Regions from separate parts of the Homo sapiens genome. Here all the other regions are linked to region 1. Evidence: promoter capture Hi-C in 16 types of primary human blood cells and fetal thymus (Javierre and others, 2016). All regions are on one chromosome and are shown on one strand. Each heading gives the region's core, a stretch centred on a gene start or on the middle of the fragment in contact. The rest is flanking DNA. Distances are from core to core; before and after follow the strand shown. Region 1 holds the start of SSR3 (signal sequence receptor subunit 3). Region 2 has its middle 13 kb from the start of LINC02029. Region 3 overlaps LOC101928236 (a long non-coding RNA gene). Region 4 overlaps LINC00880 (long intergenic non-protein coding RNA 880). Region 5 overlaps LINC00880 (long intergenic non-protein coding RNA 880).

What was found. The method cuts DNA at HindIII sites, captures the fragments that hold promoters and counts their contacts. A CHiCAGO score of 5 or more calls a contact.
Region 2: a fragment that was not itself captured here is called in contact with the fragment with the promoter of SSR3 in region 1 in 14 of 17 cell types (total B cells, non-activated CD4 T cells, total CD8 T cells and 11 more); the score reaches 15.6 in total B cells.
Region 3: a contact is called between a fragment that was not itself captured here and the fragment with the promoter of SSR3 in region 1, in 3 of 17 cell types (activated CD4 T cells, non-activated CD4 T cells and naive CD4 T cells). The highest score is 8.0, in activated CD4 T cells.
Region 4: a fragment that was not itself captured here is called in contact with the fragment with the promoter of SSR3 in region 1 in 15 of 17 cell types (naive CD4 T cells, fetal thymus, total CD8 T cells and 12 more); the score reaches 14.8 in naive CD4 T cells.
Region 5: a fragment that was not itself captured here is called in contact with the fragment with the promoter of SSR3 in region 1 in 10 of 17 cell types (non-activated CD4 T cells, total CD8 T cells, total CD4 T cells and 7 more); the score reaches 9.5 in non-activated CD4 T cells.

The regions. Positions count from the first base shown.
Region 1 is chr3:156,552,141-156,557,590 of GRCh38, reverse strand. SSR3 (signal sequence receptor subunit 3) reads left to right here and starts at 2,474. Exons shown (of 5, transcript NM_007107.5): 1 at 2,474-2,634; 2 at 3,810-3,936. The coding sequence starts at 2,502. RefSeq lists an enhancer at 2,536-2,615. The HindIII fragment of the contact is 5,682 bases long and covers 1-3,632 here.
Region 2 is chr3:157,065,545-157,071,168 of GRCh38, reverse strand. No RefSeq gene overlaps it. Among named protein-coding and RNA genes, the nearest start is that of LINC02029, 13 kb to the left of the region's middle. The HindIII fragment of the contact is 4,022 bases long and covers 1,179-5,200 here.
Region 3 is chr3:157,207,920-157,213,309 of GRCh38, reverse strand. All of the region lies in intron 2 of LOC101928236 (a long non-coding RNA gene), which reads right to left. Among named protein-coding and RNA genes, the nearest start is that of CCNL1, 50 kb to the right of the region's middle. The HindIII fragment of the contact is 884 bases long and covers 1,596-2,479 here.
Region 4 is chr3:157,114,628-157,120,051 of GRCh38, reverse strand. All of the region lies in intron 1 of LINC00880 (long intergenic non-protein coding RNA 880), which reads left to right. Among named protein-coding and RNA genes, the nearest start is that of LINC00880, 5.7 kb to the left of the region's middle. The HindIII fragment of the contact is 3,533 bases long and covers 1,145-4,677 here.
Region 5 is chr3:157,096,871-157,102,184 of GRCh38, reverse strand. LINC00880 (long intergenic non-protein coding RNA 880) reads left to right here. Exons shown (of 4, transcript NR_034007.1): 3 at 93-250. LINC00881 (long intergenic non-protein coding RNA 881) reads right to left here. Exons shown (of 3, transcript NR_034008.1): 2 at 2,604-2,702; 3 at 1,050-1,499. Among named protein-coding and RNA genes, the nearest start is that of LINC00881, 9.6 kb to the right of the region's middle. The HindIII fragment of the contact is 353 bases long and covers 1,861-2,213 here.

The DNA.
Region 1 (5,450 bases), core at 1,225-3,724:
AAAATATATTGTAGATCTTTGCTTGGGTAGAATTTACTACCCACCTCTCCTTCTGTTTTTTAGCACATTGTGTACCCTGGTTGTCCAGTGTGCCACGGCTATGTGTGCCACGGCTATATATGCCACATACAAGTGATCCTTAGGTCTTGCTGCTTGCTTTTTAAAGGGAACTAGGTAGCTCTGGTGCAAGAAAACACTGCTTCAGTACTCCAAGTGTGCCACCTTCATAATTGTAATTGTTGCCATTACCAAAAATATTCTATCATAAGTATCATTCCCTATCATATTTCTCTAATTTACCCCCACAAAATAATTTGAAATTCATATTTTAGATTATCTTCTGTTTATAGTTACCTTTAGCTTTACAAAATGTATTAATTTTTTTCTGCTAGCTTTTTTTGATTATATCAATTGTAACATTTATATCCACTAAACATTTCAAACTTTTATCTTTCCTATTTTAATTGTTAAAATATTTTTCTCAGGCATAATTTTTTTAAATCTCATCCTTATCATTTCTTCTTTTCTTCTTTTAAAAGAAAGATGATTGTTGTCTCTTTGGATCTTTTAGTTTTCTGATTTTTTTTTTTTTTTTTTTTTGATGGAGTCTTGCTCTGTTGCCAGGCTGGAGTTGGAGTGTAGTGGCGCGATCTTGACTCACTGCAACCTCTGCCTCCCGGGTTTAAGTGATTCTCCTGCCTCAGCCTCCTGAGTAGCTGGGGACTACAGGCGTGCGCCACCATGCCTGGCTAATTTTTGTATTTTTAGTAAAAGCGAGGTTTCACCATGTTGGCCAGGATGGTCTCGGTCTCTTGACCTTGTGATCCACCCACCTTGGTCTCCCAAAGTGCTGGGATTACAGGCATAAGCCACCGCACCCAGCCTCTGATTTTTATCTTTTATCTTCTTTTTATATCCTTAGTTTGTTTATAAATAGGCAGAAGAAAATCTAGTTATAGAGACAGATCCAAAAAGTTTTATTTATGAATTGGTCATAGATGGAGAAGGAAAAAAATAATTAGTGTTGAAACCCACTATTTTAACCAGAACAACAAATGAGTTTAAAAGAATGCAACTTAGTGAGATAGGAAAAACTGGGGGAGGAGTATGTGTAAGAGAAAATAATAATTTCTTCTTCTATCACTACCATGTAATAAAATAAAGAGCATTTTTAACATCAAAAAAGACATAAACCCAGATATTTTTAAATGAATACTTTTGATTTTCTGAAAAATTCACTAGATGGTCTTTTTTTCTTTTTCATTTTGTGGTGAATTAATGAAAACTTCTGGCATTAAGGAACACTTGCGGTAGATAATGGAAGGATTTATATTTCAGGAAAACTCACTCTGGTACCTGTATAGAGAATAGACTGGAAAAGATTGAAGACAAAAGCCCAATTAGGACTAGTAATAGGAAGCTGTGGAGGTAGATTACAATTTGGATACTGTGAGGAAGAAAGATATCTACCAAACGGTTAATAAGGAGGCTGGAGGTTGAGGAAATTGTGCCTAATGCACTAGAGTGTTCTCAGTAATCAAAAGTAGCATTTGCTGGGAGTGATGTGGTTGAATTTTTTTTTGAAGAAAAAATGATAATGTGTTGAGTTAAAAATGGAATCTAGCTGTTTTAATAGACATACTTAATCCTTCTGAGCTTCAGAGAGGGAGTCTTGCCTAGCCAACCTGTTCTTAGTATTATGTTTTATTTAGCATGGCTTTGGAAGCCACAAAACTCTATAGGTCTAGTTGAAATAAAATAAAATAGTAGTAACTTGTATCAGACATATATTAAATATTGCCTTCATCAATGAGATCATGAGTTTCTTAAAAGCAAGAGTCCCATTTTCTTCTTCCTACAGAGGTGGCCTATTGTTTAGTGAAAAGAGCCCACGCCTTGGAGACCCACACCGCAGGTCTACGACCCTCAGGCTCTTCAGCTGCAATGGCGGTAATGATGCGCACGTCATAAGATTCTTCAAGGTATTTAATGAAATAAAGGATGTGTAAAGGAGAAGGGATTTTACATGAGTTAGCTATACCTTTCTCTTCTTTCTTCTTCAACGTACTCAGTCCTGGGTACGCACAGAGGGCACTAATGGCGTGGGGCCAGAAGAGCTTTTAATTTTGGAATTCTGAAGAACTGAGAACTCGTGAGTCTGTCAGCAGCTCTGAAGTGGAATATCAATAAAGTTTTGTTAATTTTTTTTAAAGCACCGACTAAACTACAAATCCCTTCTCTCTCCTCCAGGTGGGTGGGTCACGTGGCTTGTCAGGAATCCGGAAGTCTGGCCCGCTCGCCCAATCACGCCCGGAAGCCTATCTAGTGGCGCCAAGCTGGCCAATCCTGGGGACGCTTGCTCTTCGCCAAACCGGGTCCCGCCTCCGCGCGCCGCGCTGACGGGTCGTTAGCGGATACGGCGGCCGCAGGGGCGGAGTCAAGGGCCTTTGCCCGCCTTGGCGGCCGGCTCTACGTTCCCTGTTCTCGCCTGCAGCTCCGCCATGGCTCCTAAAGGCAGCTCCAAACAGCAGTCTGAGGAGGACCTGCTCCTGCAGGATTTCAGCCGCAATCTCTCGGCCAAGTCCTCCGCGCTCTTCTTCGGAAACGCGTTCATCGTGTCTGCCATCCCCATCTGTGAGTGCTGGGAGCGAGGCGGGTTAGGCAGGCCGCCGGCTAGTCGGGCTGGGCGGGGACGTGGCAGGACCCGGCGAGCAGGGAAGGCGTGGGTGCCGGCCGGGGGTCGGCAATCTCTCCAGCTCCCCTGAGCTCGGGGAGGCACGGAGCCTCTTCTTTGGGCACAGTGTTGTCGCTTGGGATTGTCCTGTGCAGCACTCGGGGAGGTCACTTGTTAAAAGTACGCACGTTCCCGAGCTCCACCCCAGGAGAAGGTGGTTAACTAGTTCTGGGGTGGCGGCCCCGAATCTCTATTTAAACAGACAAACTCAAGCATACTGCCTCTGCCCTTTTCTATACAACTGTTGCTTGCCGTTACGAAATTTTAAACTTATTACTTATTTTGCATAAATTAGTTAGGTGAGAAACCCATGAAGTGACCCACTGAATTATAAGTGCATCTTTACGTGAGCTACTTCACACCATTGCATAATTTTCCTGGTTTTTGCAAAAAGAGAGAGGTTGAAGTGCCAGGGGTTAGGGATCTACCTTATTTATACTTTTTAATAATCCTACTGGACCAATTCTAGAATTCTCACTTGGTTGGGAAACTGCAGACTTGGACAAGGTCGTTTTTAGTAGAGCTCAAGTTTCCAGAACTCCTGTCTTTTGCTGCACTGTTGTTGGGCATTTAAAACTAAATGTATTTTTCTCTTTTGTCCTTATACAACCCAGCGTGCCATTAACGTGATGTGAAGCCATATGATGGCTCACTAATTGGACATAGCACTGCTTGGAGTTCTGATAACAGCCACGTCAGCAAGGAAACTATGGTTTGGGGCTGCACGTGGCATTTTGGAATGGCCTGTGTTTCGCATGCTAGTACCCTGATGAATGAAATTTGAAGTCTGACTTGTGATTACGTTGAGCCAGAGTTTGTTCTCATTTTAGAAGTTGAAATCTCATCTGGACTAGTAATAGGAAGGTGATGTTTTTCAAATGTTCTGAACTGGAAAGCTTGAGACTATACTGTTACTGGTTATCTCGCTTCTGAAGATCCTCAGATACTATTGGATTGCATAACTAATAACCTGGTATTTTACCAGGCTTAGCTATAATTAATTTCGCAGGCTTTTGTTGCGGGGTTGTAATGTTTTGCTTCTTTTTGTACCCTTCCCCCTTTTATTTTAATTCAGGGTTATACTGGCGAATATGGCATATGGATCTTATTCAGTCTGCTGTTTTGTATAGTGTGATGACCCTAGTAAGCACATATTTGGTAGCCTTTGCATACAAGAATGTGAAATTTGTTCTCAAGCACAAGTAAGTATGTTTTTCAAGTGAAAGTACGTACTACATGTTATATTTTTATATGTCTTCTTAAAGATCATTTGTGTGTGTTGGTTTTAATAAGCATTAATTTGAGATATATATATTAATAAACATTTTGGGGGAAAGGAACATTGATGCTAGGAAGAATTATTAACTAACTGAAGTAGAGACAATGATCATTCTGACACGGCTACAGAAGCAGATTTTGAGGGTGGAATTAGAACACTTAAACACAGGCCTTAATATGAGGTTCATCAGAGAAACAAACCCACCAAGTAAGTTAACATTTCAGAAGCTAAATGTAATTCCTTATGGAGAGAATTGTTCTGGGCTCTTCACGTACTATTTTTGGAAGTTAAAGAAATGATCTTTTTGTCATTATTATTTTTTGAGACAAGGTCTAGTTCTTGCCCAGTCTGCAGTGCAGTGGCATGATTATGGTTCACTGCAGCCTCAACCTTCCCAGGCTCAAGGGATCCTCCCACCTCAGCCTCCCAAGTAGCTGGGCCTACAGGTGCAGGCTACCATGCCCAGCTAATTTTTTTGTAGAGACAGGCCATGTTGACCAGGCTGGTCTTTTTATTTTATTGCTTTTTTTTTTTTTTAACTCTCTGTCATTTTCAATGCTAATTACGTTTGTTTTCATACAAGTGTATAAAATGTAAAGGATTAACATAGTCTAAGATCACACATACTGTAAAATACAGCTTTTAGAGAAGAAAACTCAAGCCTCACCACAATAAACTTATACCTTAATTATAAGCAATTAAATATTCTAGTTTCATAGAGGTTAAAATGCAGGATCACGTAGACTTAGGAAAGATGGTAACATTTATTATTTCTCAGCGTCATGGTCCTCATTGTCTCATTGGAAGTGGTATAAATTGTTTAATTGACGCCCTTTGATGTTGCTTTCATGTACACTGTGATACTTGGGTAGGGATAGCAGGATTATTTCCCTCCTTCCTTGATGGGGTCATCTAGGTGCTGTATTGCTTTGAAAGTAATTTCTTAAAAGGCAATTGGAATTTCACTGAGACTTAGTACGAACATACTTTGTATGTGCATTATCTTTTCATCCATAGTTCTCACTCTAGTTTGGATGCTGTTTTTACTTGTATTGCTGTAACAACCTCCATCTGGTCTTTTAAAACAAGTTTAGGGCCCGCCCTGCCATGCACTGTATGAAGCACATTGCCCTATGTAATCCTTATAGCATCCATATGAGGTGCAGGTATTTTCCTTGTTTTATCCAATGAAGAGTATGTATTTCTCCTTATGTGACATCATTTTTATCATGTCATTCTCATAACAACTCATCATGGCTTTTTTTTTTTTTTTTGAGACAGACTCTCACTCTGTTGCCCAAGTTAGAGCGCAGTGGCCCAATCTTGGCTTACTGCAACCTCTGCCTCCTGGGCTCAAGTGATCCTCCCACATCAGCCTCCCAAATAGCTGGGACTACAGGCACGCACTACTACCACGCCTGGCTAATTTTTGTATAT
Region 2 (5,624 bases), core at 1,940-4,439, 510 kb before region 1:
CAGGATCAGCTTGAGGAAGAGGGTACCCCGTGAGACCACAGTTTCTGAGGAAAAGGACACAGGCCATGGGACTGGAACCCAAAGTGGAAACAGACCTTAAGTGCTAACATGGATGCCTTTTGCCTTTGGTTACTCACTCCTGTGTAACGACGAGTGTTAGAATGTCCAGGGAAATGTGCTGAGCAGAACTGTCTGTTTTAACAAGGCCACATGTAGCAGAGTCGTTTACCTGAATTTGCTCCAAAGAAGACATTACCAGTGATAGCCTGGTGCATTGGCCCCAAGGGCTCACTTCCAGAACAAATACACAACCAACTTCCTACAGAGAGCCCATGGCCAGGGGCCTGTAAACCTAAGGAGGCCTGGGCTTCTTTGGTGTGGGAGGGAAGCAGCTGCCAGGCACTGCTATGGGCCTGACTGGCATTATCGTCAAGGAAATCAGCAGTCCCCAGAAGCCATGCCTAGAAGTGATCTCACTGCTTTCTTCTCCCTGCCAAGGATTCTACGCAAGTCTGTTTTATAGGAAGTTGCCTTTCTTTTGAGCAGAAGAGGACCTCCCCTGTGTTGAGCAAAACGTGAGTAAATGATTACTGGCAGCTGTAAAAGGATCTCATAAAGCATTTCTGTGATCCCCCCAAAAGGACCTGATTTTTATACATTTGCCTTTTTAGTTCACTTTGCAAGTACAAGGCTGTTAAAGTCACTTAATGATGCCAGGGGTAAAGTTCACTTTAGGAAATGGGGTAGCCAAGGGTTTGGGATTTCCCCACACTGTTTCCTTCTCCATCTCATGAGCTGACAAAAGCAACTCTCTGAGTCCCATACCCAGGAACTTGTACTGAGAAAAATAATCCATATTTATTTGCTATTATAAACTAGGGTGGTCTTCAGAAAGAAAACCAGGGCTTTTTCCCGGGTGGGCCCTGCCCTGGAGTGGGGCAAATGATGTGGCAGTGAGCCCCATACTGGGGATGTTGAGAGGAAAAGGGTGCATTTTTGATGGGAAACAAGAGGTCATCTCAGTTCGAACTGTAACCAAGGCGGAGATTCTGAGCCAGGGTAGGAGAGTCCACAGGCTGCCCAGAGTCAGGGAAGTCTGGGTTGGAGCACATCTTGGTGGTCACTTACGGTCAAGATCCCCAGGGATATCCCCTGCCTGCCCACACCCAAGGGAAGCTTTTTCTCTGTTGAAATCCCGAATTTCCTACAGTGGCTCCAGTCTCCAGAGATTCCCTGGACAGATGCTCTCTCCAGATGAACTTTGTCCTCTGACTTACAACAATCACAACTGTTCCCCACATCTGCTTCCAGGAGATCTCACTGGCTGGGGTCACTCAATCAGTATAGAGATGAGAATCTGCCCTCCAATAAATCTTGAGCTTGGGTGGCTTCCTACTGCCCTTTAAGCCTGTATCCCTCTACCCCCAAGTCTACCTCCTTGATCTCTGGGCAATTGAGTCTGGACAATAGTTACTCTCTCACCTCCAAATCTCGAGTACTGCACCACTTAGCAAATGCATCAGGTTTAAAAATCCTGCCACTTAACGTAGGCTTATTTTCTGTCTAAAATGTGCAGATGTTTAATTGTCTCATCTGTGAAATGATGACGAAAATAGCTTATCTGGTTGGACCAGACAAAACTGAACCTGAGCATTTCTCAAGATCTCTTCCGTCTCTGGAATCCATGATTCTGAGATATTTTCAAATATATGCACTAAAAATGAGTTTTTCTAAAACCAAATTGTGATTCATGTGAATTACTAACGACTGAACCAAATACAGCAGCTTATTTAGTTCTGGCCTCAGGAGAAATCTTTTTTTTTGAAACAGGGTCTTGCTCTGTCACCCAGACTGGAGTGCAGTGGCACAATCATGGCTCACTGCACCCTCGACCTCCTGGGCTCAGGCAATGCTCCCACCTCAGGCGATTCTCCCACCTTAGCCTCCGGAGTAGCTGAGACAACAGGCGTGCGCCACCACACCAGGCTAATTGTTTTATTTTTTGTGGAGATGGGGTCTCACTATATTGCCAGTGGTCCCAAATCCCTGGTCTCAAACAGTCCTCTCACCTCAGCCTCCCAAAGTGTTGGGATTACAGGCATGAGCTACCACTCTCTGCAGGAGAAACTTGTAATTTACTTTTAGGTGAAAAGTCTCTTCTCCACTAAATACTGCATAAAAATGGCAAGATTCTCTACTGAATATTAATGTGACCGTAGCAAACAAAGGAAGAGACTATAAAAGTCTGAAATGTAAATATGTGGCCCACTATTCCAAAATAGTAAATGTAACAAAAGGAAGAAAGTCAGCCTCCTCCACCCTAGTGCACCAGGCGGCCTAGGGCAAGCCACAGAAGTCAGCCCCTTACTTCCTTTCCCACCATCCCACCAGGCAGCATCTCTGCCTTTGCTCACATTCTTCCCTGAGTCTTCAGAGCTCCCCGTCCTGCTTCACCTGTGTGAGGTTTCCTCATCCCTGCAGCCCCCACAGCTCACATCTATTTTTTTCTGAAAACTTTGCATAGCCTGCCTGCCCTCTGGGCCGGCTGGAGGTCATCTCTGCTTCTCAGGTTCCCAGCCCCTTGTATGCTGTGACAGCACTCGCCACCCGCTCCTGATATGGCATTGCATGGTTGGTACGCACTTGTCTGTCTCTGTCACTGGACTTAAGTTTCTGGAAGGCCGAGACGCTCTCTGTCATCATTCCCATGGCCCTTACACAGGTTAGACATCCAATACATTTTTATGAAATTTAAATGAATTGAAGAAGGATGACAATTTTCCTATCCAGATGTGTATCTCTACCACAGATTATTGGAACAGACTGTAGTGCGAAAGTGGCAGTGACTTAGTCAATGTAGCCAGTGATTCTGAACGTTGGCACCATTGACATTTGGGCTGGATAATTCTTGGTTGTGGGGGGCTGTCCTGTGCCCTGCTGGATGTTGAGCAGCATCCTTGGCCTCTCCCCAATGGATGCCAGTAGCACTCCTCCTCCTCCTCTTCCTCCCAAGTTATGATATCAAAAACACTGGCAGTATCCCCAGTCATTGACAATGTCTCCTGAACTACCCCTGGTTGAGAACCACTGATGCAGGTGATTCCCAAAGGAGGCTGAGAGAAAGTACCAGACATGATGCTCAGTGATGTCCTACACAGTGTCCTGACTCCTAGAGTCACCGTCATTTTAACACAACAGTGCACAGCAGCCACTTACACCTCTGGCCAAATATTTCTCCCTGACAGGCTATCACAGTGCACGCTAGTCAAACACTGGAATTTTCTTTTCTTTTTTTCTTTTTTGAGATGGAGTCTCACTCTGTCTCCCAGGCTGGAGTGCATGGCAAGATCTTGGCTCACTACAACCTCTGCCTCCTGGGTTCAAGCAATTCTCCTGCCTCAGCCTCTTGAGTAGCTAGGACTACAGGCATGTACCATCATGCCCAGTTAATTTTTGTGTTTTTAGTAGAGATGGGGTTTCATCATGTTGGCCAGGCTGGTCTCGAACTCCTGTCCTCAAGAGATCCACCCATCTCGGCCTCCCAAAGTGCTGGGACTACCGGAGTGAGCTACCACGCCCAGCCCAAATGCTGGAATTTTCTTAAAGGAGGTGGGGAAGGAAGGAACTGAATAAGGCCTCATCCCCTTTGAAATATAAATACCTTTGTTTAGGAGGTTGTGGTCTTGGAGCACAACAGCTACTAACAGGTGCCTGGGGTCATGCCGGGAAACCACAAGGGCAAAAAGTAACAACAACAGCTGATTTGAGAGACATATTTTTCCTTAGAAGGTATACAGGGCCATCACTGCTTGAAATATTCACACATACAAATTCAAGGAAGGGGCACACCTATTTGGCACGAGCCCTGTGGCTGTGGTTAGAGAAGATTTGAATATTTTGAGTGTGCAGGAAGGTGAACTTCATGTATCTTTACCTTAGCTTCCTTAGGCTGGGGCTATCTGTCAGCTACAGAGCAGCCCACAGGCAGGCGGAGCTGTGATGAAGCACATTTGTTCAAACACAGCAAATGGTGTTTGAAAAAACCACCACTCTTGCTTTTTTATGAAGCTATTACACTCTGTCATGTCAGGGAGCTGAGCCCAAGTGATGCCCAAGTGGCCATGATAGACTCACACTACAGGGCCTGGGAGAGCAGTGGGATTGTTTTTTTTCCTCGTTGAGGCAGTAAAAGATTGATTTTTGAGGCAGTGACTGAGGCATTATGCATTAATGACTACGCAGGGATTTTCATTCACATATCACGCACTGACAGTGGAAACTGAAGCTGCTGTGTAAGGTGCTGGCTCAATGCCCTTCCATGACTCCTTCCTCATCACGTCATTTGCCTGCCGAGATGCCGGGGCCTTCCGAATCATGGGGTCGATTGAGTAAAGGGCCCATGGTTTGGTGCAGGGCATCTCAAGCCAACACACGAGAATAACTGATGCAGCTGCTGAGATGAGAAGGTCTGCCGCAATGCTAATAACTCCACCTGGCTGCTCTCACATTTGACTTCTTGTATTCAGATTTGGAGAGACAGCTGGGAGCCTCTGATGAGAAAATAAAAAATTTACAACAATAAGCAAGCTGTCCTCTGACACCAGGAGAGGAACTCGCTTCAGCCCTGGCAAGAATTGCAGCTGGACTTTGTGAGGCACTGTTTCATCAGATGCCAAACATCATAGCAAGGGCAAGAATGACAAGAATTACAGTTTCTGCCCTGATGCACAGGTACTGATGGAAGAGATATTTCTGTGTTGATTTTGCACTTCTCAGGGCAAATCTGCAAAATAGATATCAAAGGAGATGTGGGCACTGGGCAAGGAGCCACACCAATCAACCATATAGAGCAGTCTGGAGGAGTCTCTCCCCATCTCCAACCCTCAGTTTTTCCCACCTGTTAAACACAGGCCACAATGTCTGTGCAGCCACCTCGCAGTGCAGTTAAAAGAACCGGTTTAAACAGTGTTTCTTAGCTTAGAGTCAATGGCTGAACAGGTTGCAGAGGGGCTGTAAAATCCTGAAATTTGCATGAAGCAATTTTTCCATATATGTCCATGTGCATCTTTTTGAGGAGGGGTTTGTCGCTTTCACTATATTCTTAAGAATATAGTCACTCTTAAGAGGTTAAGGGCCACTGTTCTAGGTAATGTGTGAAGGTGATGTATGTGTCCTGTAATTGAGCTATTATCAGCAAGCTTTTTGAGGAAAAAGGGACACAGAGGAGCACTTATTATGTGTTAGGGACTGTGCAGGACACACAGAGAATAGAAAAAAAAATGACCCTGGCCTTCTGGAGCATATGATAGACTTTAGATATGAGCCCAAAACAGATTAAAAGTTAAAAGGAAAAGCTAAGTGTAGGCAACACAGGTGAAAGGTCAGAAGAATGTAAGTGCCCCATAGAAGGAGAGAAATGGACTTCCAGCTACAGTGGGTTTAGGGATGGACACAGAGCGAGGGTGGGATTGAGTACAGGGAAAGGCAGGCAAGAGCATCTGTGGAAGAGGGATGGCCGGTGCAGCAGAGCTTGCATGCTGAGTTGACACGCTCCATGCCAGAGACCCTTAGATTGGGACTAAGTGTCACCGAAGAGAAGGCTGCGTTCAACAGATAGTTCTCAG
Region 3 (5,390 bases), core at 788-3,287, 660 kb before region 1:
TTCCTTCTGTGCCCTCCTCTTTTTGTTTTCTTTCACAATGCATATCTCTAGTCCTCGCTTACCAAGGATTATATTATGATTAATGAGATCACTGACAGTCAGAAAATAAGTGGACAAACTTGAGAACTAAGCTTATTCTAGAGCATTCTGTTTCCATTTTAAACAAGAAAACTGATGAAAACAAAAGAAGTAATGAAAGAAAATAAGGCAAAAGTCCAAAATATTAAACTAAACAAAGCGGGAATGAACACATTTTCTAATGGCTAGGTACCTAAGCATCAAATAAATAATTTGCTACTAAAATGACGCACACTGCTGAGCATGGTGGCTCACGCCTGTAATCCCAGCATGTTGGGAGGCCGAGGCAGGCAGATCACCTGAGGTCGGGAGTTCAAGACCAGCCTGACCAACATGGAGAAACCCCGTCTCTACTAAAAATACAAAATTAGCTGGGTGTGGTGGCATATGTCTGTATCCCAGCTACTCGGGAGGCTGAGGCAGGAGAATCGCTTGAACCTGGGAGGTGGAGGTTGCGGTGAGCAGAGATTGTGCCATTGCACTCTAGCTGGGCAACAAGAAAGAAACTCTGTCTCAAAAAAAAATAAGAATAAAAATAAAAATAAGAATAAAAACAAAAATAAATAAAATGATACACCCAACCCAAAAAAAAAAAAAAAAAAAAAAAAAACCAAGCACATTATTTCCAATCTTATCACTTCCTAGGTTTTTTTTTTTTTGAGACGGAGTCTTGCTCTGTCGCCCAGGCTGGAGTGCAGTGGCACGATCTCGGCTCACTGCAACCTCCACTCCCAGGTTCAAGCGATTCTTCTGCCTCAGCCTCCCGAGTAGCTGAGACTACAGGCACACACTACGGCACTCGGCTAATTTTTGTATTTTTAGTAGAGACGGGGTTTCACCATATTGGCTAGGCTGGTCTCGAACTCCTGACCTTGTGATCCACCCACCTTGGCCTCCCAAAGTGCTGGGATTACAGGCGTGAGCCACCGCCCCCGGCTACTTATCACTTCCTAGTTTTGAGGCTAATTCTCCATTAAGAGAACAAAGTCAATTCAATAAAGGATTCAACAGAAATTCACTTTACCTCTAATGAATAATTCAAACTTTAATATTTGAATTATCTAAATAATTAGCTCAAATTTTTATAATATTTTGTACTTCTAACACATTCTTAGGCATGGCTTTACTTTCTATCCTTTTGGTCAAAATAAATTAATGTACTTGATGTGTCAAAATAGCTTTTATTTGTCCAAAAAAAATCAATATAGCATCAAGAAATCCCTTTAAATACATCTACAGGTTGTGCCTGAGATCATGAGTATTGAAGTGTTTTATACTATTGTCAAATATCATAGAGTTTATCTCCAGGTAGCCTTTGATTATGAAAGATGCCCTTGGTATAAATAATCAAATCAGTTTTTGTAAATACTATTTTCAAGCCTTAAAGTGGACCATAAAATTCAAGGCATAAAAGCAATATATTTTAGAAATTCTGAAACTGTTTCCCCTACCTTTCTACCCAGAATTTAAAAAAAAAAAAAAGTCCTTTTTACTTTTTTTCCAGAAAATTATAAGCTTATATACTTCTTCTCATCTCCTCTTAGTTATATGGAATTTTCCCATTGTCTTCTACCAAAATTTAATCCTTCAGAATTCCCAGTTTTCCCACATGGTTAAATGGAATGTTCAACATTTTTGTGTGTTATGCCTCACTAGACCCATAATCAACCAAAATAGACATTTATGATAGACTTAAAGTTCTCTCGTTTTAAGTAAACACACACTAATTTTTTTAACAATCTAAACTTCTAAATATTCACTAAGTGTTTTACCTTGAAAATAGACTATCAAAAAAAAAAATCATAAGGGCCAGATGCCATGGCTCAAGTTTATCATCCCAGTACTTTGGGAGGATCTCTGGAACCCAGGAGTTCGAGACTGCAGCGAGCTATGATTGCACCACTGCACTCCATCCTGGGCAACAGAGTGAGATCCTGTCTCAAGAAAAAAAAAATATATATATATATACACACACATATATACACATATATACATATATACACATATATACATATATACACATATATACATATATACACATATATACATATATACACATATATATACATACATACACATATATATACACATATATATACATATATATATGATACCAATGTCCTCTATGTCATACGAAAGCCAATGTTGTTACAAAAGGCAGTGAGATCCAAGTCTGAAGAAGCCCAAATAACTTAGCAGACAGGTGAAATCATTGAGCCCATTATAACTAAAATTTGACATTTTATTTAATTAAACAAATAGTTTGAAGAAATAAATGTAAAGTAGTTAAAAGAGATACAGCATGACTCATAAACACATGAGCCAAGCACTGTTTGGGATGTTTGCTAATCCTACTCTAGGCTAATTAGCTGAAAACATACCTGGCAAATCCCAGGAAGCTTAAAGATGATTAAAGAACTCAAAGAAGGAAAGCCTACAGCAACTTGTGCAAAAGAATAAAGAAACTGCAGCTATTCCACCTAAGAAAGCCTGGAAGCCGATTTCATAGTAAACTTCCATTTAATATGGCTGTTATGCAGATCAGGGACAGACAGCTCTCCAATGGGACAAAACAGGATAGGACGCCATATATTTCAACATAAAGGCATAGACAAAAGACAGTCTCCACAATAAGGGGAATCTGTTCAGCTCTCGCCTGGGTGACCGCTGTATGAAAAGTGCGTGACCCCAAGGTGCCCGGGCCCCAAAGCCAATCCTAGCACACTGAAGCCTCAGAATGGAAACAGGAGAGCAGACTCCAGGGAGTGGAATTGAACACATTTCTTCACAGAAGGTGTCTCGATGAGATCAGCAGGGGATCACAGGACACATCACAGAGCAAGGCTTCCTTAGAATCCTCTCCAATTCCTCTCCTTTCCCCAAAAGCTCAGTCCTCCCGGCAAACTCCTTTACTCTAGTAGGCTCTGAGTCCCTCCTTGTGTTTCCTCCTCTCATTCCCCTCTCCAAGTCAATCCCTCTCTCCCTCTTCATCTCCCTCAAATTCTCTTTCTCTCTCTTGTAGCCTCCTCCCCACAACCCAAGTCTCACCCTCTACCCACACAGGCACTGTGGGGAGAAGGACGCCTGAAAATACTCATAGCAGGATTTGTTTAATGACATGCTGCAGTTTATATGCACCAAAAAGATGGCAGCATTGTGCCTTTTTTTTTTTTTTTTTTTTTTTTTTTTTTTTTTTGATACAGAGTCTTGCTCTGTTGCCCAAGCTGGAGTGCAATGGAGTGATCTCGGCTCACTGCAACCTCTGCCTCCCAAGTTCAAGCGATTCTCCTACCTCAGCCTCCCAAGTAGCTGGGATTACAGGTGCATGCCACCACACCCAGCTAATTTTTGCATTTTTGGTAGAGACAGAGTTTCACCATGTTGGTGAGGCTGGTCTCAAACTCGTGACCTCATGATCTGCCTGCCTTGGCCTCCCAAAGTGCTGGGATTACAGGTATGAGCCACCACGCCCAGCCAGCATTGTGCCTTTCTATAAATGATATAAACTTCCTCAAAAGCTCCATTCCCACTTTTAGAGGTGGCAGGATGGAGTGGGATAGGAAAGGTATGAATTTGCTGGTTAAGTGTCAGTGGCCAGCCAGGGGCAATGGCTCATGCCTGTAATCCCAGCACTTTGGGAGGTCAAGGAGGGTGGATCACCTGAGGTCAAGAGTTCAAGACCACTCCTGTAATCCCAGCTACTTGGAAGCCTGAGGCGGGAGAATCGCTTCAACCCAGGAGGCAGAAGTTGCAGTTAGCCAAAATCATGCCACCACACTCCAGCCTGGGTGACAAAGTGAGACTCCGTCTCAAAAAAAAGAGTCAACGGCCAGGTGTGGTGGTTCAAGCCTGTAATCCTAGCACTTTGGGAGACTGAGGTCGGAGGATCACTTGAAGCCAGGAGTTCGAGACCATCCGGGACAAGGCAAAACACGTCTCTACAAAAAATTAGCCAGGCGTGGTAGTGCACGCCTGTAATCCCAGCTACTCGGCCTGTAATCCCAGCTACTTGGGAGGCTGAGGCAGGAGAATCACTCAAACTTGGGAGGTGGAGGCTGCAGTGAACCGAGATCATGCCACTGTACTCCAGCCTGGGTGAACAGAGAAAGATTCCGTCTAAAAAAAAAAAAAAAAAAGAGTCAATCAGTTACCTCGCTTTAAACAGTCTTTTTCAGATCAATATGCAGTCAGTTCAAAGTTCAAATGCCCTCGGAGATTTGTTTCTCCCATTCCTCCCTGCTCCTTCACAAAATAGGGACCTGAGTGTAGAACAGAGATTACATGTCTCCGGGGGCAGCTGAGGGAGACAGTTGACCCCAGGGCTGGCCTCTTCAGACATATTCCCTGGTAACACCCTGCCAGTGACATCTGTGGTCAGCTTTTTGGGTAAAGCAAGGGTCTCACAGGTCCTTGCCCCTGTTAACTGGCCCCGCCTTCATTCAGGCTGGCTCTGCAAATCCTCTGGCTCTACTTCCACCTCTTCCTCCAACAGCCCCTGGCAGGCTTGCACCAGGGAGCTTGCGGGAGCTTGCGGGGCAGAGGGTGTCTTACCCACATGTTGCTCCCAGATCCCTGGTTGGAGGCCTCTGGTTTCAATCCCACAGCAGAATGTAAGAATTTCTGGATCCTTCCGCATCACAAAAGCAAAAGCCAAGGCATTCTTGGGGCTCTCTATTTGGGCTGTTTGTTTTTTACTTTTGTCAGGGTTATTGAGATATAATATACATTCAGTAAAATCCCTTTTCACGCATGTTTTAATGAGTCTTGACAAATGTATGTAGTTGTGTAACCATTACCACAATGAAAATATAGAACATTTCTGCATCTCCCACCCCTCAAATTCCCTGTGCCCTTTTGCAGTCAGCACCTGCCACCACTCCCCAGGCAACCACTGATCTGATTTCTGTAGTGTTGTGTAACATTGGCTTTTCCAGAATAATATATAAGTAGAACCATATCATTTGTAGCCTTTTGTGTCTTGCTCTTTTTTCATTTAGCATTTTGAGATGCAGTCATCTTATTGTATGTATCAGAAGTTTATTCCTTTCAGGGGATAAAACCCCTAGATTTATGAATTATAACTGACATACCATAAACTGCATATATTTCAAATGTGCTATTTGAAAAGTTTTGACATATGTATATACCCATGAAATCACCACCACAGTAAAGACAGAGAATATAACCAAGACTTCCAAAAGTTTCTCTTTTCAAAAAAAAATTATTTTAGATGCAGGGGGTACATGTGCAGGTTTGTTACATGGGAATACTGCATGATGCTAAGGTGTGGACTTCTAATGATCCTGTCACTG
Region 4 (5,424 bases), core at 1,662-4,161, 560 kb before region 1:
AAATCTCGGTTGTTACTAACTCATTTGTGAACCCCATTTTCTTCTTGATTTCTTCCTGACGTAGAATTGATCATCGTCACTGGGCTGTCTTAGCTACCCCTCCCTTGACTGTAATTTTAAATTTATCTGTGCATACCATTCCAAAAACAAACAAAAAAATCACGTGACCTGTGGTTTTATGTGTGAACAAAAGTTCTCTGAAAAGGAATTTAGAGGAAACAGACTTTATTACAATGAACAGTTTACAGACGAGGAAACATAGCCCTAAGTGTAAAATGAAGAGAACAAAGAGACAGTTTGGCGTTTACAGAGAAAATTCCTACCTGGGTTCCCAATCAGGTCCATTTATGCAAATGAACAATTCAAACTGGCTTGGTTCTGATTGATCAATGCAGCTGAGTCCTGATTGGTTGATGGGGAGCACAGCCTATTCCGTTGCTTCAGGCCACATGAGCGGTAACAGTCAGCTGTCAAAGCCCCAGTGTTAAGCCGACTGTGGGTTTTCCAGGAACTCAGAGTAGTGTGTAATCTCTAGTCAGTAAATGGCCGTTTGGCTCTATATTAAATTTATGTAGCCACTCAGGATTCATCTTGAGGGACTGGCTCTTTCAGATTCACTCATGTTTCAACTCTGCTGTTTATAAGTCCTCTATCTGTGTATACAGGCCTAGAGGTCCCAGGGCCGGATATAAAATTTCTCTGGACAGGGCCTGCTCCATAACCACCTTCACATGCTGTTCTTCAAACATATAGAATTGGGTTGATAGTGGAAACAATTTCAGGTACTTTAACCCAATTCTAAATATTCTAAATTTTAGGTATTTTAACCTTGGAATAATATAATTTTTTCTTCTTTTTTCTGTGTATAAAAAGACGTACATAGTTGATATGACACTATGTAATGTAACTCATAGATCACTATGTAATTTTGTACCTGCATTCATTCAGCATTTTAACATGAATTAATATTAATATTTTTCCATGTTAACTCTCTATGTAAAAACCATTTGCAATAAGCATTTTTCCATTTAGTAAGCTACCTCATATTTTATTAAATTGTTTTTCTACTGTTACACATAAGAGTTTTCTCCAGTTTTCCACTATAATAAATAATACTGCAGTGAACATCTTTCTTCCCAAAGCTTTTTTTGTTCTTTTTTTTCCTTGCTTTTGGTTTACCTCCTTAAAAGAATTCTGGGTCAAAGGTTATGAACATTTTTCAAAAGACCTTTGTTGTCATGATGGCAGAGAGGCAGCACTAAAATAGTTTGGAGCAATAGGGATTTCACCAAAATAGCTATGATTGATATCTGGAAAGAAAGACAGAGAAAATAATGGCATGGGAATCTTTCTAGAGTTTTAGGGCCTTGTTCTGATTTAAAAAAAAAAAAATATATATATATATATATATATATATATATGAAAGGAAAATAAATCTTCGGGCCCCCAAATCACTAAGGGAATAATCAAGCTGGGAACTGCTTAGGGCAAACCTGCTTCCCATTCTATTCAAAGTCACCCCTCTGCTCACTGAGATAAATGCATATCTGATTGCCTCCTTTGGAAAGGCTAATCAGAAACTCACAAGAATGAACCGTTTGTCTCTCAAGTATCTGTGACCTGGAAGCTCCCTCCCAGCTTCAAGTTGTGCCGCCTTTCCAGACAGAACCAATGTACAGCTTATATATATTGATTGACGTCTCATGTCTTCCTAAAATGTATAAAACCAAGCTGTGTTCTGACCAACTTGGACACATGTCATCAGGACCTCCTGAGGCTGTGTCATGGGCATGCATCCTCAACCTTGGCAAAATAAACTTTCTAAATTAACTGAGATCTGTCTCAGATATTTGGGGTTCACATATATATGAATATATGAAATAATTGTATATCTTAGAGTCCCATTCCTGGAAGTTTAAACAGCTGTACTCATAGCCCACACTTAAGTAGAAAGTTGGGAGAATATCTGACAGTATGGGTGACAACTGCTTACTCTAGGTGCAGATTGGGGCTTCTCAGGCAGCTATTGGCCCCAGGGTAATTAGCCTTCTGGTGACTACAGAAGTAGAAAGTAGAGATCTCCATCTACTTTACAGTTGAAGGCACTGAGTCTCAGCACACCCAGTTCAGTGGTTGTTAACTCTGGTTGCATAGTATAATCACTTAGGGTGATGAAAAGACATCCAGAAAAAAACATCCAGGATAGATCCTCAGATATTCTGATGTAATTGGTCTGAGGTGAGACCCAGGCATCATTACAATATGAAAGCTCCTTGGGTGATACTAATATGAATTAGGATTGAGAAGCTCTGGTATAGTGGGAAAAATATGGGCTTTGGAGTCACTAATATCTGATACAGCTCCCAGCTTTGCCATTTATTGGCCATGTCATTTTGAGTAAATTAATGACTACTCTCTGCTAAGGGTCCTCATTTTAAATCATAAAGTTGTCACAAGGGTTAAATGTAATAACATGCAAAGTGTTTTTCAAGGTTTCTGGAACATGGTTGGTGTTAAAAAAACGTTGGGTCCTTTAGTATGTACCTAAGGTCCTATAGCTAGCTGATGGTTCTGGAAAGCCATCCAGAACCGTGCTGTGCACTCAGTGAATGCCTGTGGATGTTCCTTGGTGACATCATCTTTGAACATGAATATGGGTGTTACTGAGACATTTCGAACACCACATTGAGTTGGTGTTCATCAGAACAATAAAGCCATACCTCATAGAGATTCATCTCATTTGCTGAATATTAATTTGCCTCCTATTTTTAGTTCTTCAGCTAAAAAGAAACCAATTTTTATTCTGCTAAACCAATTGATTATGATGGAACTCTTGCAAGAAAAAAGTTAAACACTGTTACAATTACATAAATGTATGGAAGTCTTTGTGTAACTTATGTAGTAAGCTGAGGATATAACAGTTAAATTGTCCTTTAAAAATTTTAAGACCTGCCCCACCCTCCACCCCCAGCAATGAACGATTTCACTTTTCACCAGCTTTAACCTAAATGCCTTTAGCCTATTTTCTTTATCCATCCTATGATAGACAGAAGAGTTAGTGAGAACTGGATTTGATTTCAGAAGACCTGGGATTGAGGCTTGGCTCTGTCATTCACTGGGTATAAACCTCGGGCGATCATTCTTCTTTGCCCTTGTGCCTTCTCATGAATGCAATGAGCACCTGAATAGCATGACCTGACTTTAGCATGAAGTGAGTTTAAAACTGTGATGCTGACCAAGCAGGACATGGTTATTTAACACTTATTAAGCACCTCCTGTATGTCCAGCCCTCAGTAGGAAACCTTGCGGGAATTATAAAGCCCTGAGACTTTTATAGAGTAACTTGGAGTCTAGCTAGAAGAGATAAATCTCATGCATGAAGAACAACTAGGACCAGTTTCCACCTGAGAGCTGCAATAAGTCCAGCCCAGTTGACTCATGGAGGAAATAAGTGGAACATTTAAGAAATGACAATCATGGAGAAACGAAGGGGTGTCAAAATTGAATGTCCTGTCCCTTAGTGCTTTATTTCTCTTCAGTCTCTGACACAAAGTCTTGGATAGTAATAACATGACACAAAACTCCTTCAAGTTAGATAGGGCCAGGCATTTTTCTAACAGCACATTCCAGAACTTTGTCTGTCCATGTCCTAAATCCTTATTATTTTGCCCAGTTTTCAGCAGTCTTTTGCAAGCTCCAGGCTTTCCCCCACTCCTATTTAGACCTCATGTGCCTCTGATAGCTCTGGACAGAGCCCATACTGTGTGGCGGACGCACAAAGGGGACACAGTATGCAAATGGCGGTGTAGGAAGCATCGAGGCAGGAATGTTTGAGCTGTGCCATGTCACAGATCATTTCTGAAACAGCAGTCCCTGAGCTGTGAGTCACAACCCTTGTTAGGGGTGAACAGCTGATGAGGCTGGTGTCAATTTTTGTCTGACCCCATCCTAAGAGCAACACCCCAAGTACTTCAATTACCCATTTGTAACATTCTCCCAGCAGTGGAGAAAGGAACAACAGTGGCAGCCCACACAGTGAACCTCAAAAGTAAAGCTCTCTGAAGTATGAAGATAGAAGAGGAAGTTTGGGAGACTCACAATGAAAGGGTTTAACAAAAACTGCCTGTGAATGTGTTGACTTAGAAACTATTGGAGCATTGGCAATGATTTCCTTAACAACGGAAGGAAAATTGACCAGGGGCATGAGTGTTTCATTCATTTTTCAGATGAGTATAGCAGAATTGCCAAGAGAAAGAGAATGTCTGCTCTAGCGCAGGGTTTCAGCCCTCAGCCCAGCCACTGACTCCCTTGGTGTTCTTTTGCAAATCATCCATCTCCCTGGGTCTCAGTTTATTCATCTGTAAAATGAGGAGCTGGTCCAGGTAAACTGTAAGTTCCTTCCTGGCTGGAACATCTTGATTTGATGCAAGCCATAGTGAGGGTTGTTAAATTATGCCTTGCTCCACGCAGAGAGGTCTAACTTAACTTTGTACACAAAGCGTACTCATTGACTTTCTGACTAAGTGTGGCTCAGGCACTTCCCTGAACTATAGTGTGCTGGGAGTCTCTGCCCAAAGGAAGAGAGCTATTTTGAGGCAGGGTTGATTAGAGATAAGGTGTCTCATTCCTTTACCGGTCATTGGCCCTGACTCACCCGAAGTTCTTGGGTTTAAAGCTTAACACTTGATGGATGAATGTAAGCTAACCCCTCTGCTTGCCCATGAAAATGGCGCCCAGGACACTGCTTCTCAATCCCCAGCTTTATCAGTGTCAATTAAGAAAGTTCTTTGACCTCTTTTTGCTTAGCCAGCTTCTCTGAAATGCAGCCCTTGCTTGTAACCTCTCTCCTTGACATCTCTTGTTTGCTCTTTCTTGTTATTTACGGAGTCTTCTGAGTTATATAAAGGGGAACGTCTCAGTAATCCTCTTAACAGCAAAGAAATCCGACCACCCTGTTAGGTAGGGGGATGGAAATGTCACAAGATGCTTGAAAAAGGCACTGGACAAAGCTGCAACATACTTTTGCATGGAAAAGCCCAGAAAATGAATGGCACAAAAGACCACTATAGTTATGCTGCTTTGAGAGACAACAAAATTAAATTATAAGGCATGGTTATCTTAACATTTTAATTTAACAACTTTTTTTAAACGAATATGTTTTTTTAAAAAGATACCACGTTATGAAATGGTTGACTTTTTTTGTTTGTTTGTTGTTGGGGTTTTTCATTTATTTCCAGTCTTGGTGTGTTATCTTTGATTGGTTTATTTTTTGGCTTGGGAATGTTGAAAGTACCCTTGTGACACTTGACAGGACAGGACATGGCTTGGGCTGTGCCTGATTTTATACAGTTGCTTTGTTCCTAACAAGCTAGATGTAGATGGAAGTTTAAAAAATCTGCCCATATTTCAAAGACATTTGAAAGA
Region 5 (5,314 bases), core at 788-3,287, 550 kb before region 1:
GTTATAAGGACACCAGTCACTTGGGATTAGGGTCCACCCTAATGACTTCATCTTAACTAATTATATTTCAAATGACTCTATTTCCATATAAGGTTCTATTCTGAGGTACTAAGGTTAAGACCTCAACATATGAATTCTGGAGGACAAAATTCAACCCAGAAGTCTACCTTGTATTGGGTCCTCACGGCAAGGCTGCAAAACCCGGGGGGTTGGTGGCCCAGTCCCACCTCCCATGAGCTAATGAATGTGGGTAAGTTGTTTAACCTCCTTGTGCCTCAGTTTCTTCATCTGTAAGATGGGGATAACACAGGCCCACAATTTTGAAACGTTAAAAGCTCCAAAATATGAAAAAATGGATTTATAATTCATTTGGCAGCAAAACCTGACCTGAAACAAGCACATTGACTAAAAGTATCCTTGTATCTTGAGTTGACGCAAGGATACTTACAGTCTTTACTTATGCAACATATATATGTGTCACTACAGAAACTAGAACCATTAGTATGTTTCATAACAGGATGCTGTTGCAGATGCCATGAGGTGTTATAAAGCCTATGGTACATATACTGTATATCTTTCTCAAATCCCCAAGTTCTGACATGCCAAGCACTGCTGGTTCCAAACAAGGGTTTGAATAAGGGACTGTGGCTCTTCAGTGTATCTATCACAGGGTTATAATGAGGATTAGATTACTTAGTATTTGTACAGTGCATAGACTATTATCTGGCACATAGTAAGCACTGTATACATATATTTGTTAAATAAAATAACAGCTGCCTTGTCTAAAGTAACTCAGGTGGAAGGCTAGGGAGGAAGGTTCTTTGAGACTTTGAGTGCAGGAATGCCTGACACCAGAAGCTGTGCTGTCTGTGCTGTCATGCTGCCTCTGCGACTCCAGGTTTGGGGCTCATGTCCTTTGGTTCACAAACCAGCCTTGTTTATGCAATAGTTTGAAGCAATCTCTGCCTTCTGAGATGATTATTAAGTGAAATCAGCCTTCTGTTTGTGTTCGTTAGCTTCGCCGCCATAACAAAATACCACAGACTGGGTGACTTAAACAACAGAAATTTATTTTCTCACAATTCTGGAGGCCAGAAACCTGAGATCAAATTGTCTGCAGGGTTGGTTTCTTTGAAGGGCTCTCTCTGTGGCTTGCAGGTGGCTGTCTTCTCCCTCTGTGTTCATATGGTCTTCCCTCTGTGTGCATCTGTGTCCTAATCTCTTCTTATAAGGACACCAGTTATACTGTATTACTGCCCACCCTAATGACCTCATTTTAACTTAATTACTTCTTCAAAGGCCCTGTTTCCAAATACAGTCACATTCTGAGGTACTAGGCGTCCATATATGCATGGCGGCGGGGCACAGGAAGGGGACACAGTCCAGCCTATAACACTATTTTTAGAAACTAGATAAATTATCACTCACAGCAGATGAATCCCATATGCTTGCTGGCTTGTTTCTGCCCCAGCATTTTTCAAAGTGTTGTCCAGGACCACCTGCAATCGAATCACTTGGGCTTTTAGTAAAAATAAGTCTGCTCCAAGCCCTTGAGTCAGAATCTGGGGCAGAGGAGCACAGGGCCCAGGGATAAAGCCTACTTGTATTTTACATTCATACAAAGATTTGGCTTAATTAAAGGGACTTGGGAAAAGCCAGGTAGTGAGGTATGCCGCCCCCCCCAACCCCCGCTGCACCCCCACAGCCACTGTAGTCCCCCAGGTAAGGGCAGCCGAAGGAAGAGCACGAAGGAGGGAGTCAGGCAAGTGTGAGTCTGAGCAGGGAGCACCATGCATCTGAGGCCTCCTCTAGTGTGGCTCACTGGAGGGCCACGAGAGAAGCTCCTTTCCACTCAAAGCTTGCCTCCCAGTACCAATGAATGCCCCCACCCTCACCCCTTTCAGTAGATACAGGGGACTTTGCAGTGTAGATGCCAGGAGAGGCCACAGGGGAGGCCACCTATCCAGAAATGCCTGTGTTCCACAGCCTGACAAAGATTCTAGTCATTTCCCTTGGGCGGGATTCCCCTACCCCTAACCCCCAGCTCCTGGCAGAACTCAAAGATCCCCCTGCCTCTCAGAATGGTGGAAGACCTGTGCCTTGAAATAATGTTTAAGAGACAGGAAATAGTGTCATTTTTCCCAAGCCAAATGCTGAACCAGGGAGCAGAGGTTGAGGCAGGTTCACATAGTCACTGACTCTGCTCCAAAGCTTCCTGCGATGTGGGTAAGCCGGTGGGTCATTTGGCTTCCTGGAAGCTGATGTACGGGAAACAGGATTGTCATACACATGGGTACAGCCTTTGAATCACGTCCCAGACAACCAACGTGAGCCCTCTAGAGTGGGTGTCTGCTGCAGGTGTACGTGTGTGTGCACACCCATGTCCCACGCCTGTGTTAGGGTGGCCACCAGCCTCTCATGTCAAAAATTCTAGCAAAACAGCTGGTGAGTGGGACTGTAAATGATAGTGATTTTCCTAGCACCATGACAACAAGACACCATCAAAGCTAATGGCGCTAATCCATCCCTCGTATTTCTCTGCTGGTTCTGGCTTAGATTTTGTTTCTTAAAATACTTGCCTGGCTGGCAAGGCAGTGACTCACCTGCACCAGGACTGAACAGAACAGGCAGGAGGTATTTTCTTCTGAAGAGCTGTCAAGAGCCAATACAGCACCTGAGGTCTTTCATTTCACACGTTGTTCCTGTCAAGGAGGAGACATTCTTACTCTCTTGTCAAAGTTGGAGTTGCCAAAGAAAGCAAAGTGGTTAGAATGTGTCAAACTTTGGCATTTGTATTAAACAGAGTTTGAGGAAACCAGGCAGGTTTGACTGAGAATCTCTTCCTTGTCTTCCATCCAGTGCAAGATAGGCCACATTTTTACAGAGAACTGTCAAAAAAGAAAGTTCACATTAGAGTCACTCAGCTCCACGTGGGTCCTCTGGTGGCATCTCTCTCAGTGTCAAATCCTAATTGTTAGGACTCCATGAATCCTGAGTACTTCAATGATTTAAGAACTCTTCCGAAGCTGGTAATTTGGAAATTGCATTGTTAGTAAATATGAATTAATAAAAAAGCAAAGTCAAGAATTTTACTGGCAATGAAACTATGTTTACTGGTCATCTCTTAATTCCATTTGAATTCCACAGGCCATAAACTGTGGTATATTGCAAAATACCCTGAAGTCAGACGTGGATTCACATCCTAGATTTGCTGCTTATTAATTGTGTGACTTTAGCCGTTACTTAGCCTCTCTGAGTGTCCATTTCCTCAGCTGTCAAAGTGGGAATGATACCATTTCCCAAATTGTATTGCAGTGAATATAACAAGAGATCATGAGTGTGAGAGATGCTAGTACAGAGGCTGGCCCATAAATGCTCATGTCTTTTCCTGTCTGTTGTTTTTTTCTGTAACTTAAATGAGCATCATTTCTAGCTAACTAATGTTTTAATGTTGACACATTTCAGTAGATGGTTTTCTATACTTTTAGAATGTCATAAATGATTCTCCAAGAAGTAGAAATGACTAGGATACAAACCCTGAGACCAGCAGTTGCCAAAGTCACAAGAGGTGATTTGTATGGTCCAGACAGTGATGCAGGAGCAAAGCCTCCGTTTTGACTTTCAGAGATTTGGGAGCAGTGAGGTGCAGTGCCCTTTGGAAAGGTCAGTAGAAATGCTCTGTGAAATGTGAAAAGGTGGGTGCCAGCTCAAGGGGTGCCAGGTGAGGTCCCACTGGAAACCTGCCTCCTCCATCCCTGCCTCCCTGTCCTCAGCAGCACCCTTTCATTTTCTAGTTAGATCGGCTCAGGTCCCAGCTGACTCCTTCTGGATGTCCAGCCACAGACATTTGTCTTTGTCTCCAGCACTTTGAGTCAGAACCACAGGTTTTCGTATTTGCTGTGGTTTTTTTTTTTTTCTGTCATTATTGTATTTGTTTTGGTCTTAGTTTTCTACCAGACTTTAATGGAAAGAGACCAGGTTTGAGTCCAGCTGCACCCCTTATTAGCTGGGTTATTAAGGACAAGTCACTTCACCTCTTTGAAATGCAATCTTCTGATTTATATGTGGGGATCCTACATTATTAAGTTGTTGCAAGAGCTAACGTGACTAAAATTCACATTGAAGTATTTTGTAAACTGTAAAGTGCTGAGAAGAAAAGATAATTTCAAACCCCTCTTAGCATGTATACTTTACTGGAACATATACATGCTCAAAGATATGTGTTAAGTTACTTTTTGATTAAAGATATTTGCTACAAGAATGTTGTCCAATCCCCAAACACACCAGGAGATGTTCTGAGCATTCTGCAATGGTTCCAGTGGGTTCCCTGGATGGTTTGTGAGGGAATTTGCCATTTACTGTGTATTTGCCATGTCCAGGCTCATGCTTGGGAACATCCTGTTTGATTCCCATGAGGTAGGTATTAGCCAAGTTTCCCCCACCAGGTGTGATGGTTAATTTTGTGTCGACCACACTGGGTTAAGGGGCATCCAGATAGATGATAAAACAATATTTCTGGGTTGTCTGTGAGGGTGTTTCTGGAAGACATTAGCATTTGAATCAGTGGACTAAGTATAGATCACCCCCACCAATGCAGGTGGGCAGCATCCAACTGGCCCTCAGCCTCCACAAAAATGTGGAGGAAAGGTGAATTTGCTCTCCCTTCTGGAGCCAGGACGTTATCTTCTTTCGCTTCCAACACCAGAATTCAAGGTTCTTGGGCCTTCCAACTCTGGGACTTACATAAGCTGCATTCTCTACATAAGCTGTCACCTGCGTTCTCAGACCTTGGGCCTCTGACTGGGAGTTACAGCATCGGCTCCCCTGGTTCTGGGGCTTTCAGTATCAGACTGAATTATACCCCCACCTGTCCTGGTTCTCCAGCTTGCAGACTGCATAACATGGAATTTCTCGAGCCAATTGCATGAGCCAATTCCCGTAATAGATCCCCTTCTACATATCTGTATATGTCCTATTGGTTCTGTTTCTCTAGAGAACCCTGTGTGATACACTACGCATGCACAAATAAAGTCACATCAAGACTAATAATCTAAATGTTAGTTTGTTACCACCATTTCTCACTTTGAACCTAGCTCCCTGCAAAGCACCTTCTACCCTGCACTTTTGGGGAGTTCCTGGGGTAGGAGGTCTTACATGTGCTCATCAGCAAATCAATGCCCAGGCACTGTCCCTTACTCTGCTCTGCCATCTCACTCTGGTAAAGTTGCTCTGTGGATTGTCAGGTGGAAAAGTTGCCTTTTTCTCTCTTATGTTCATTTATAGGAGTTTCATCTCAGTGACCCTGTACTCCAGT